Linked DNA regions of Homo sapiens: region 2 is linked to region 1. Evidence: promoter capture Hi-C in human tissues and cell types (Jung and others, 2019). All regions are on one chromosome and are shown on one strand. Each heading gives the region's core, a stretch centred on a gene start or on the middle of the fragment in contact. The rest is flanking DNA. Distances are from core to core; before and after follow the strand shown.

Evidence for each region. Contacts are between HindIII fragments. The study calls those that stand out against the background at their distance.
Region 2: the fragment with the promoter of LMAN1L here is called in contact with a fragment that was not itself captured in region 1 in 1 of the 25 tissues and cell types used here (dorsolateral prefrontal cortex).

Annotation. Positions count from the first base shown.
Region 1 is chr15:75,440,343-75,446,616 of GRCh38, reverse strand. All of the region lies in intron 1 of SIN3A (SIN3 transcription regulator family member A), which reads left to right. Among named protein-coding and RNA genes, the nearest start is that of SIN3A, 8.2 kb to the left of the region's middle. RefSeq lists a silencer at 5,465-5,614. The HindIII fragment of the contact is 9,103 bases long and covers 1-6,274 here.
Region 2 is chr15:74,809,281-74,815,634 of GRCh38, reverse strand. LMAN1L (lectin, mannose binding 1 like) reads right to left here and starts at 2,800. Exons shown (of 14, transcript NM_021819.3): 1 at 2,606-2,800. The coding sequence starts at 2,780. The HindIII fragment of the contact is 6,905 bases long and covers 1-4,909 here.

The sequences.
Region 1 (6,274 bases), core at 2,548-5,047:
GAGAGGCTGAGGCAGGAGGATTGCTTGAGCTCAGGAGCTTGAGGCTGCAGTGAGCCATGACTGTGCCACTGCACCCCAGCCTTGACGACAAAATGAGACCCTGTGTCAAAAAATAAAAAAACACCTGTAAGAACAAATCTGATGTACCCTCTGCCTGCCACCCTTATCCTAGTACCTCTCTGACTACATTTCTGACTAGTCCTTCTTTCGTTTTTCTTCAGCTACCCAGCCTTCATGCTGTTTTGGAACATGTCAAGCACATGTGAGCCCTCACAAAGACATGAGGGTCTTTGCGGTTGCTGTCCCCTCTGCCTAGAAGGCTTCCTCCACTAATTTCTGCATGACTAGCTCCCTCACTTCCTTTACTCAGAAGTTACCTTATCAGTAGGTATTATCTGACCATTCTTATCTACAATTTCAAAAACTCTTCCTTGCCTTTTGTTCTTGATACCTGTCACTGCCTACTATTCTAAATATTATACTTTGTCTATTGTGTCATCTTTCACTAAAATATAAGCTTCTTGAGGGAAGAGATTTTTGTTTACCGTTGTATCTCCAGCTCCTAAAACACCTGGTGCATAGTATGTGCTCAGTAGATATTAGAGAATGTATACATGAATGAATGATTTGGTTTCCACCACAGACAAGACAAAGCAGTATGCTGAGCATGGTAGAGGATACATAGATGGTTAAAGATGTTATGTGCCCATGTTTGTGTGGGAGCAGAAGAGCTAATGTGATAAAAGCAGTGTGAGATGTGAGTGACACTTCCACCTGTCCTTTCAAGAACTATCTCAAGTTCTATTCTTTGTAATGCTCTATTTTCTTTTCTTTCTTTCTTTTTTTTTTTTTTTTTTCTTTTTTTTGAGACAAGGTCTCACTGTGTTGCCCAGGCTAGAGTGCAGTGGTACTATCTCGGCTCATTGCACACACACACATACACACACCCAGCTTCAAGTGATTCTCCTGCCTCAGCCTCCCGAGCAGCTGGGATTACAGGCATGCGCCACTACACCCAGCTATTTATTTATTTATTTATTTATTTTGAGACGGAGTTTTGCTCTGTCTCCCAGGCTGGAGTGCAGTGGTGCAATCTCGGCTTGGCACAATCTCAGCTCACTGCAACCTCCACCTCCTGGGTTCAAGTGATTCTTCTGCCTTAGCCTCCCGAGTAGCTGGGATTACAGGCACCCACCACCATGCCTGGCTAATTTTTTTTTTTTTTTTTTTTTTTTTGAGACAGTGTCTCGCTCTGTCGCCCAGGCTGGAGTACAGTAGCGCGATCTCAGCTCACTGCAATCTCCCCTTCCCAGGTTCAAGCAGTTCTCCTGTCTCAGCCTCCTGAGTAGCTGGGATCACAGGCGCCACCACCATGCCTGGCTAATTTTTTGTATTTTTAGTAGAGACAGGGTTTTACCACGTTGACCAGCCTTGTCTTGAACTCCTGGCCTCAGGCAATCCACCTGCCTTGGCCTCCCGAAGTGCTGGGATTACAGGCATGAGCCACTGCACCTGGCCTTATAGATATTTTGAAAGATTATATTTCTTATATTAAATAGAGATAGGGTCTTACCATGTTGCTCAGGCTGGTCTTCCTGGACTCAAGCAATCCACCTGCCTCAGACACCCAAAGTGCTGAGATTACAGGTGTTAGCCACCATGCCTGGCCTAATACTTAATTTTTAAAAAACTTTTTCTTTGGAAATAATTTTAGACTTCAAAGAGAGTTGCAAAAATAATACAAATAATAGCCCTATAATCTTCACCTAGATTCCCCAAGTGCATCTTTTAAAACCACAATACAGTGATCAAATCAGAAAATCAACATTGATAACAATTATTAATACATTTTGAATTTAACTAAATTTCTGTTCATTTTCTACCTACAGTAGTAAGAAATGTCTGGGTAACATCAGTGTCACCGAAGTCTGTATTGCCCAGATTGGTCTCAAACTCCTGGGCTCAAGCAGTCTGCCCACCTCGGCCTCCCAAAGTGCTGGGATTACAGGCCTGAGCCACTGCACCTGGTCTGGACTCAATTTTAGTTTTTGAGTTTTGCTTTTTTTTTTTAAAGCAGTACTAACTACTTGTAAAGATGTATATTTCATGACTTTTATTTATTGGAGGTCTTCAAAACAGCAAAGAGAAAATTTATTTTTATTTTTAATTTTATTTTTGAGATGCGGTCTTGTTCCATCCCCAGGCTGGAGTGCAGTAGCGCGATCTTGGCTCACTGCAACCTCCGCCTCCTGGGTTCAACTGGTTCTCCTGCCTCAACCTCCCGAGTAGCTGGGATTACAGGTGTGTACCACCATACCCAGCTAATTTTTGTATTTTTAGTAGAAATGGGGTTTCACCATATTGGCCAGGCTGGCCTCAAACTTCTTATCTCTCGAAGTGCTGCGATTACAGGCATGAGTCACCATGCCCAGCCTGAAAATTTATTTTTTTTCCAAAGGAATAAACTCATTTTAGCTATTACCACTTGTACATCGAAACAATGTTGTGGAGTTTTACTGATCTTATTTTTCCTGTATATTGAAATGTTTTGGTATTTCATCATCCTAGGAATTATTTCATCATTACTCATCAATTCTCAAATATGCTAAAGAGGACTAAAATAATATGACAAAGGGAGAATTATAGAATTGCTTAAAAGGATATGCAGTAGTGAAATAAATCATTAGTTTTACACTTCAGTTTTTAGAGATGGGGCCTCGCTTTGTTGCCCAGGCCGAAGGGCAGTGGTATGATCATAGCTCTCTGCAGCCTCAAACTTCTGGGCTCAAGTGATCATCCCTCCTAAGCATCCTCGGTAGCTGGGACTATAGGTGTGCACCGCAGCCCTTCAGTTTTCTTATTGCTTTTCCCAAAACTTACAGCAACTTTTTTTTTCTTTTTGGATACAGGGTCTCACTCTGTCACCCAGGCTGGAGTGCAGTGGCGCAATCTCAGTTCACTGCAACCTTCGCCTCCCAGACTCAAGCAATCTCACCTCAGCCCTCCAAGTAGCTGGGACTACAGGCATGTGCCACCACACCTGGCTAATTTTTGTATTTTTTTTGTAGAGAGAACGTTTCGCCATGTTGTCTAGGCTAGTCTCGAACTCCTGGGCTCAAACAATCCACCCACCTTAGCCTCCCAAAGTGCTGGGATTCCAGGCATGAGCCAGCATGCCCAGCCTACAGCATCTTTCAAGAAAGTATAAAAGAAGTTGGGAGATACCATCTTAAACATTATGTAAGATGTTAACATTTGGAGAATCTAGGTGAAGGAGTACATGGTAATTTTTATACTATTTTTCAACTTTTAAGCTTTCATTGGACATATTTAAAAATCCATAGTTTTTCATCTTCCTCCTATAATGGCAAAGAGAAGAAAACTGACTACAGAAGACATTTCAGAGGAACTAGTAGATGAATGCTGTGTGACAGTAGTACTCTAGACTGTTAGGATGACGGTAAAGTTATATAAACCAAGTTGTAAAATAAGAGTCTTCAGCCAGGCATGGTGGCGTGCACCTGTAATCCTAGCATCTCGGGAGGCTGAGATGGGAGGATCACTTGAGCCCAGTACTTCAAAACCAGGCTGGGCAACATAGCAAGATTCTGTCTCCACCCATATACATATGTGACTGTACCCTAGATGAGTTTAGAATGTGATTTTTTTTTTTTTTTTTTTTTTGAGACAGAGTTTTGCTCTTATTGCCCAGGCTAGAGTGCCATGGCACAATCTCGGCTCACCGCAACCTCCGCCTCCTGGGTTCAAGGGATTCTCCTGCCTTAGCCTCCCAAGTAGCTGGGATTACAGGCATGTACCACCATGCCTGGCTAATTTTTTGTATTTTTAGTAAAAGATGGGGTTTCTCCATGTTGGTCAGGCTGGTCTTGAACTCCCAACCTCAGGTGATCCACCTGCCTTGGCCTCCCAAAGTGCTGGGATTACAGTCGTGAGCCACCATGCCCAGCGGTGAATTTTTTTTTTTTTTTTTTTTTTTTTAAAGATGGGATCTATCTCACTATGTTGCCCAGGCTGGATTTAAATTCCTGAGCTCAAGCTGTTCTCCTGCTTCAGTTCCCCCAAGTAACTGGCACTATAGGCATCCAGCTAGAATGTGATTTTCTTTTTATAAGAATCAGAACTGGGCTGGGTGCAGTGGCATATGCCTGCAATCCCACCTTCTTGGGAGGCTGAGGTGGGAGGATCGCTTGAGCCCAGACGTTCGAGACCAGCCTGGGCAACATAGTGAGACCCCATTTCTATTTTTAAGAAATGAAAAAAAAAAACAATCAAAACCACTGCACTTTGCCAAAAAGATGTATGATAGTATTCTTTCATCTTTCAAGATATTTGTACACCAAAACTTAGTTGATGCAGTTTGTAAGTGGACAGGTGCCAAAGTTACGTATATGTATAAAGATGGTTAGAAGGAAAAATTATGTAAAAATGAAAAAAAAAATCAGTTTTTTTTTTTTTTTTTTTTTTTTTTTTTTTTTGAGACAGAGTCTCACTCTTGTTACCCAGGCTGGAGTGCAGTGGCATGGTCTTTGCTCACTGCAACCTCTGCCTCCTGGGTTCAAGCGATTCTCCTGCCTCAGCCTCCCGAGTAGCTGGGACTACGGGTGCGTGCCACTGCACCCAGCTAATTTTTTGTAGTTTTGGTACAGATGGGGTTTCACCGTTTTAGCCAGGATGGTCTCAATCTCCTGACCTCGTGATCCACCCGCCTCGGCCTCTGAGAGTGCTGGGATTAGAGGCAAGAGCCACACGCTCAGCCTGGATTGTTCATTCTGATTGACATTTATTAGTCTAAAAATGAGAATGCTTATGATTATGGAGCAAAGAAGATGACTGTTCTCTCCAACAAAATTATGAAGTGAGTTTTCAAAGTATTTCATTTGATGGGCAGAAAGGGAAAAAAAGACCCAGAGGTGATAAGCTAGAACCTTACTAGAGCTGTACCTGAAACCTGGAATCAAAATTTACAAAATGGAAGCCAAGCGTGGTGGTGTGTACCTGTTTACAGAGTGGAAGCCAAGTGTAGTGGTATACACCAGCTACTCGGGAGGCTGAGGCAGGAGGATCGCTTGTGGCCAGGAGTTCAAGACCGGCCTGTGCAATGTAGGGAGACCCTGTCTCTAAAAAAAATTTTTTTCTTATTAGCCACTCTGTAGTCCCAGCTACTTAGGAAGCTGAGGTGGGAGGATTGTTTGAGCCCAGCAGTCTGTAATGAGCTATGATCATGCCACTGTACTCTAGCCTGGGCAATAGAGCAAGACCCTGTTTTTTTTTTATTTTGTTTTTTGTTTTTTTGAGACGGAGTCTGGCTCTGTTGCCCACGCTGGAGTGTAGTGGCGAGATCTCGGTCAACCTCCACCTCCCAAGTTCAAGCAATTCTACTGACTCAGCTTCCTGAGTAGCTGGGATTATAGGCACACGCCACCATGCCCGGCTAATTTTTTTGTATTTTTAGTAGAGATGGGGTTTCACCATGTTGGCTAGGCTGGTCTTGAGCTCCTCACCTCACGTGATCTACCCGACTTGGCCTCCCAAAGTACTGAGATTACAGGCGTGAGCCACTGCACCTGGCCAACCCTGTTTCTTTTTCTTGTTCTTTTTTTTTTTTTTTTTTTTGAGACAGAGTCTTCGCTCTGTCACCCAGGCTGGAGTGCAGTGGCGCGATCTCAGCTCACTGCAAGCTCTGCCTTCCAGGTTCACGCCATTCTCCTGCCTCAGCCTCCCGAGCAGCTGGGACTACAGGCGCCTGCCACCACGCCTGGCTAATTTTTTGTATTTTTGGTAAAGACGGGGCTTCACCTTGTTAGCCAGGATGGTCTCGATCTCCTGACCTCGTAATCCGCCTGCCTTGGCCTTCCAAAGTGCTGGGATTACAGGCATGAGCCACCGCGCCCGACCCCTTGTTTCTTAAAAGAAACAAAAAATTTATAGAATGGCTGTGTTCCAAGTTCATGCATGACATTTGATGAGTACTTGGTTGCATTTTAAAGGATGTTGCACATTTTGGATATTTATATCTCCCAGTGTCCAGGAAAGTACGGAATAAAAATTTAGATTTGCTACTTAAGGCTGGGCATGGTGGCTCACACCTGTAATCCCAGCACTTTGGGTGGCTGAAGCGGGCAGATCACTTGAGGTCAGGAGTTTGAGAACAGCCTGGCCAACATGGCAAAACCCCTTTTCTACTAAAAATACAAAAATTAGCCAGGTGTAGTGGCACACACCTGTAATTCCAGCTGCTTTGGGAGGCTGAGGC
Region 2 (6,354 bases), core at 1,551-4,050, 630 kb after region 1:
GGCCAGAGCTTCCTGGTGGACAGGACCTAGGGGGCATTCCAAGGTGAGGAAAGCAGGAAAGCAAAGATGTGAAGGTGAGAACCGGCCCACAGGACTGCGATGAAAGAATGCAGGATGGAGTATGTGTGTGAGAATTGCCACTGGCGGTGGTGGGGCGGGGAGGAAGGAGCCCTGCATGGTAGGAAAAAGGAATGGGAGAGAAACTGAGGCAGTCTTGGCAGGAACTGGGGGCAGGGAACTCAGAGGCCCTACTCGAGCTCGCTCCCCACCCTCCAACCTGCCAGCCTGGAACCTGGCCCAGGGCCCAGACTCTGCCAGGACGTTCTGGAGGCAGCTAATCCAGCCTGTTTGCTCTATAAAGGCCAGGGATGGGGGTAGGGAGGCTCAGAGCTGCAAGGCCACAAGTCCCAGGGCCTCTGGAAGCTGTCACTGCCTCTGAAATCCTTGCAGAAGGCTTTCAGCCTTACAAGGCCTGTGGGTGAGACCTTGCCCCAGACCATGGGCTCCTTCAGCCTCACTCTGCCTGGTATCTCTGGGCTGGGCACAGAGGAACATCAGGGTGAACGAATGAATGAACAGACAATGCACACATCACTGGGTGATCTTGGAGAAGGTGCCTCTGCTCCCTCACATGATCTGTGACACCCAGATTTGGCAAGGCCCATAGCAGTGAGTGTTGTATAAGTTTTGCCATCCTGGTCCTGAAGCAGGGCCCAGCTTGGTGCTGTGAGAAACAGCCCACCTTTTTGTTACCTCCTGTGTCTCTATGAAGGAGGACTGGAAGAAACCCTACTGACAGGGCCTATCATCTTAAAGGAATATTTTGGGCTGGGCGCGGTGGCTCATGCCTATAATCCCAGCACTTTGGGAAGCCGAGGCAGGCGGATCATCTGAGGTCAGTAGTTCAAGACCAGCCTGGCCAACATGGTGACAACCCGTCTCTACTTAAAAAATACAAAAATTAGGCTGGGCGCGGTGGCTCGCCTGTAATCCCAGCACTTTGGGAGGCCAAGGCGGGCGGATCACGAGGTCAGGAGATCGAAACCATCCTGGCTAACAAGGTGAAACCCCATCTCTACTAAAAGTACAAAAAATTAGCTGGGGGTGGTGGCAGGCACCTGTAGTCCCAGCTACTCGGGAGACTGAGGCAGGAGAATGGCATGAACCCAGGAGGTGGAGCTTGCAGTGAGCCGAGATCACGCCACTGCACTCCAGCCTGGGCAACAGAACGAGACTCCGTCTCAAAAAAAAAAAAACAAAAACAAAAACAAAAATTAGCTGCGTGTGGTGGCACACACCTGTAATCCCAGCTACTCAGGAGGCTGAGGCAGGAGAATCACTTGAATCTGGGAGGTGAAGGTTGCAGTGAGCCAAGATCACACCACTGCACTCCAGCCTGGGCAACAAGAGTGAAACTCCATCTCACAAAAAAAAAAGGGATATTTTGTCCTGGCTTTAGTTAGGAATCGTGCCATTTCTCAGAACTCACATCTTTTTTTTTTTTTTTTTTGAGCCAGAGTCTGGCTCTGTGCCCAGGCTGAAGTGCAATGGCAGGATCTCAGCTCACTGCAACCTTGGCCTCCCAGGTTCAAGCAATTCTCCTGCCTCAGCCTCCTGAGGAGCTGGGACTACAGGCGCACGCCACCACACCCAGCTAATTTTTGTATTTTTAGTAGAGTCAGGGTTTCACCATTTTGGCCAGGATGGTTTTCAACCTCTTGACCTCGTGATTCATCCGCCTTGGCCTCCCAAAGTGCTGGGATTACAGGCGTGAGCCACTGCACCTGGCCAAGAACTCACATTTTATAGACAGAAATCCACAGCCGATCTGCTTTCTGTCTTTGCTTTGCCTGCTAAGAGGCTCAGAATTAAATCCATGGCCCAACTCTCAGGTGGACAGACCTCACAGCATATGTTTTGGAAGCCATGCTCCTAGACTATTTCACGCTCCACTCTAATCCTCATTGTTCTTGCTCACTCCCTCTATCGTGTAGTTCCATCATCACAAACCCTTTTTTGAACAAGATCTGGTAGAAGACACACTCTTTGTAGGTCTGGGTTTGGAAGTCCCTGAATACAAACCTATGGGCTAAGATGCTCTCATGCCTGCTTCCACCCACAACACACATACAGGGAAGGGCTGGTGCCCACTCACCTGGGATGAGGATGCTTCCCTCCAGGTAGCCCCCAGTTCTCATGGCCAGCCACAGGCCCGCTGGGATGGAGCCGGGAGAGTGGAGGTTTGTGCTGGTCCACATTGCCTTCTGTGTGCCTGGGACTTAGTGTGTGAGCATGTGTCTGTGTGTTCACAGGTCAGAGGTAGAGGAAGGGCAGGGGTCCAAGGAGAGGCAGAGGAGAAGAGAGAAGTCCTGGGGCAGGGAAGCAGAGAGGCAGAGGAGAAACAGCTTGGGCAGGGGTGGGGGGTGTTGAGGCGGTGGAGCAGGAGACAAGCCTGGAAGGGGTCCTGGGGTGCCTGGCACTGTCCCAGGCCTTGCCCCACCCTGGACAGAGGATGGCTGTGACAGACCCACTCCCCACCAAGTCACAGCCCCTCCAGCACTTTGAGGGACCCTGGGCATAGCTGGTCCCCACCCCTGCCCCTCACCTCCATGATGGCTCCAGAAGGGTATTCCAGCCCCAGGCAATGCCAGCCTTGGGCCTTTGAAGCTGAGCTTGTACTCAAACCTGCGTAGAGGAGGACACCCCGTCTCAGGGCTGTGGGGGTCCAGGAGCAGGAGGAGAAGGCAGAATAAGGGACCTGGACCACTGACCGCCGGCATCGTGAAGGCGCCTGAAGTCTGGGCCCCGGGGTAGATCATAGCTGGGAGGCCGGGGAGGGGATCCTGGGATAGGGCCAGGCAGGGAGGAGCTGGGGACTGGCCAGGAGCTGGGTTTTGGCACTGTCCTCTCCCTCTATCTCCAGCATAGACATCCTGTTCCTTCCAGGCCTGCTGTCAGGCCCCGCCCATCCCTCACCTCCAGTCTGACGTGGGCAGCGGGACCCCACGACAACCTGAGCTCTGCCCCTGCTCCTGACTCAGGCCATCTTTCTGTCTCCCATCACTTCCAGCAGTTGGATGCGGCAGAGGGGAAGGGGGGGTGCCCAGGGTTGGCCCCCACCCTTCAGCAGCCCTGGCCTCCCCTCCCAGTTAGGGAGACAGGCCTCCACATTCTGCCTGTGTCCCCCAGCATGGATGGCACATCTATCTGGACACCCATCCTTCTCTCCTCCCTGCCCCCTCTCTCCCTCTCCCGAATTCCCCCAGGCTCATCCTTCCAAGCAGCCTGGTTTCCTCAACAAAAGCATTACATGGAAAAAAGAAGGGAGTCTTTAGAGACAGCACAAAAACGCAACGTGCAGACCTTGTTTGGAGCCAAATTTTAACCCAACTGCAAAAAAAAAAAAAGATATTGGGGAAATTTGAACAATGGATATTTTTGAACAATGGATATTTGACTATATTGAGGAATTGTTAAAAATTTTAGGGCACTGTGGCTCATGTCTGTAATCTTAGCACTTTGGGAGCCCAAGGCAGGTGGATCACCTGAGGTCAGGAGTTCGAGACCAGCCTGGCCAACATTGTGAAACTCTGTCTCTACTAAAAAAAAATACAAAAAATTAGCCAGGCCTGGTGGTGCATGCCTGTAATCCCAGCTACTTGGGAGGCTGAGGCAGGAGAATCACTTGAACCTGGGAGGCAGAGATTGTAGTGAGCGGAGATTGCACCATTGCACTCCAGCCTGGGTGATAAGAGCAAAAATCCATTTCGAAAAAAAAAATTGAGAACTAATATGGTATTGTGGTTATGTTTTTTATTTTTTATTTTATTTTATTTATTTATTTTTTGAGACGGAGTCTCGCTCTATCGCCCGGGCTGGAGTGCAGTGGCGCGATCTTGGCTCACTGCAAGCTCTGCCTCCCGGGTTCACACCATTCTTCTGCCTCAGCCTCCCAAGTAGCTGGGACTACAGGTGCCCGCCACCATGCCTGGCTAATTTTTTGTATTTTTTAGTAGAGATGGGATTTCACCGTGTTAACCAGGGTGGTCTCGATCTTCTGACCTCGTGATCCGCCTGACTTGGCCTCCCAAAGTGTTGGGATTACAGGCGTGAGCCACTGCGCCTGGCCTTTTTTTTTTTTTTTGAGAGGTGGTGTCTTCCTATGTTACCAAGGATGGACTCAAACTTCTGGGCTCAAAGGATCCTCCTGCCTCCTGAATAGCTGGAAATAAAGGCATGAGCCACCACGCCTGGCTTGTGGTTATGTTTTTAAAGTGTCTTTTGGAGAAACATACAAAAGCTTTACAGATGAATTGCTGTAACATCGGGGATTTGCTTCAAAATATTCCAGGGCTTGTTGGTGAGCAGGTGGGGTAGAGATGAGACAGAATTGACCTTGAGTTGGTAAGTGCTGAAGCTGGATGGCGGGATGCAGGGGTTCCTTATATCTTCTACTTTTATTATTTTTTGAAACAGGGTCTCACTGTCACCCAGACTGAAGTGCAATGGCAGGATTGTAGAGGAGCTGGGACTACAGGCACACACTACCGTGCCTTGCTAGCTAATTTTTTTTTTTTTTTTTTTTTGAGACGAAGTCTCACTCTGTCACCCAGGCTGGAGTGCAGTGGCGGGATCTCGGTTGACTGCAACCTCCTCCTCTCAGGTTCAAGCGATTCTCCTGCCTCAGCCTCCTGAGTAGCTGGGATTACAGGCACCCACCAACCCACCACCATGCCCGGCTAATTTTTGTATTTTTTTTTTTTTTTTTTGAGATGGAGTCTCCCTCTGTTGCCCAGGCTGGAGTGCAGTGGCACAGTCTCCGCTCACTGCAAGCTCTGCCCCCACCGGGTTCATGCCATTCTCCTGCCTCAGCCTCCAGAGTAGCCGGGACTACTAGGCGCCTGCCACCACGCCCAGCTAATTTTTTTGTATTTTTAGTAGAGACAGCATTTCACAGTGTTTGCCAGGTTGGTCTTGATCTCCTGACCTCGTGATCCACCCGCCTCAGCCACCCAAAGTGCTGGGATTACAGGTGTGAGCCACCGCGCCTGGCCAATTTTTGTATTTTTAGTAGAGACAGGGTTTCACCATTTTGGATCAGGCTGGTCTCGAACTCCTCACCTCAGGTGATCCGTCCACCTCAGCCTCTCAAAGTGCTGGGATTACAGGCATGAGCCACAGCGCCCAGCCCCCAGCTAATTTTTTAATTTTTATTTTTGTAGAGATGGGGGTCTTGTTTTGTTGCCCAGGCTGGTCTTGAACCCCTGGCTTCAAGTGATCCTTCTGCCTTGGCTTCCCAAAGTGCTGGGATTACAGGTGTGAGCCACAACACTGGCCTATTTTTATATATTTGAAAATTTTCATTAAAAATTTTTTTTAGAAAGAAAGAAATCCTATATTTCAAATATTTTCATCCAAATAAAAGTTGGTTTTCCAGAATGACTCATTTGCCAAGAATCCTGGATAGCTGAAATTTTACTGTGCTTTGGAGGTTCCCAATAGGAGTCAGTGACTGAAGCTTTACAAATGGATTAAAATCAAAGTTGTACATGTGAAATGTTAGAACATGCTATGAGAAATCATTTCACAGGCCAGGTGCAGTGGCTTACACCTGTAATCCCAGCACTTCGGGAGGCCGAGGTAGGCGGATCACCTGAGGTTGGGAGTTCAAGACCAGCCTGACCAACATGGTGAAACCCCATCTCTACTAAAAATACAAAATTAGCCAGGCGTGTAATCTGAGCTACTCAAGAGGCTGAGGCAGGAGAATCGCTTGAACCCAGGAGGCAGAGGTTGCAGTGAGCCAAGATCGCGCCATTGCACTCCAGCCTGGGCGACAAGAGTGAATCTCTGTCTCAAAAAAAAAAAAAAAAAAGCATTTTGCAACACCAAGCCCTCACCTGCCTCCATCTGCTCCTCCTCCCTTCACAGCCACACTGGTGGACAGGTTGTCCATTCTGTCCCCGCCTCCTCACTGGATCCTCAAGCCCCTCAAGCCCACTGGATCCTCAAGCCCTTGGCTTCCCGATCCTGTCCCCACCACTCCATGGAAAACGCCCTCGCAAAGGCCTGAGCAGCTATGCCTGTTCTTTGGTCCTAGGAGACTCTTCTCAACCCAGTCTCTGCCGCTTGAAATGCTGCTGACATCCACCTGCTCTCCCCGACCCCTCCTGTACCCTGAGTCCCCCCAAGGCCCACCTGCTTCTCCCCCTGCCCCTGGCTGCTCCCTTCACTAATCCCTTGCCAGCTGCTCTCCCTCCCTACCCCCATAAGCCTCAGGGCTTGCTTCTCCTCAACCCCACACTCCCTGACCAAGCTCCTCCATGCCCATGACTTCAAGCACATCCCTGTGCA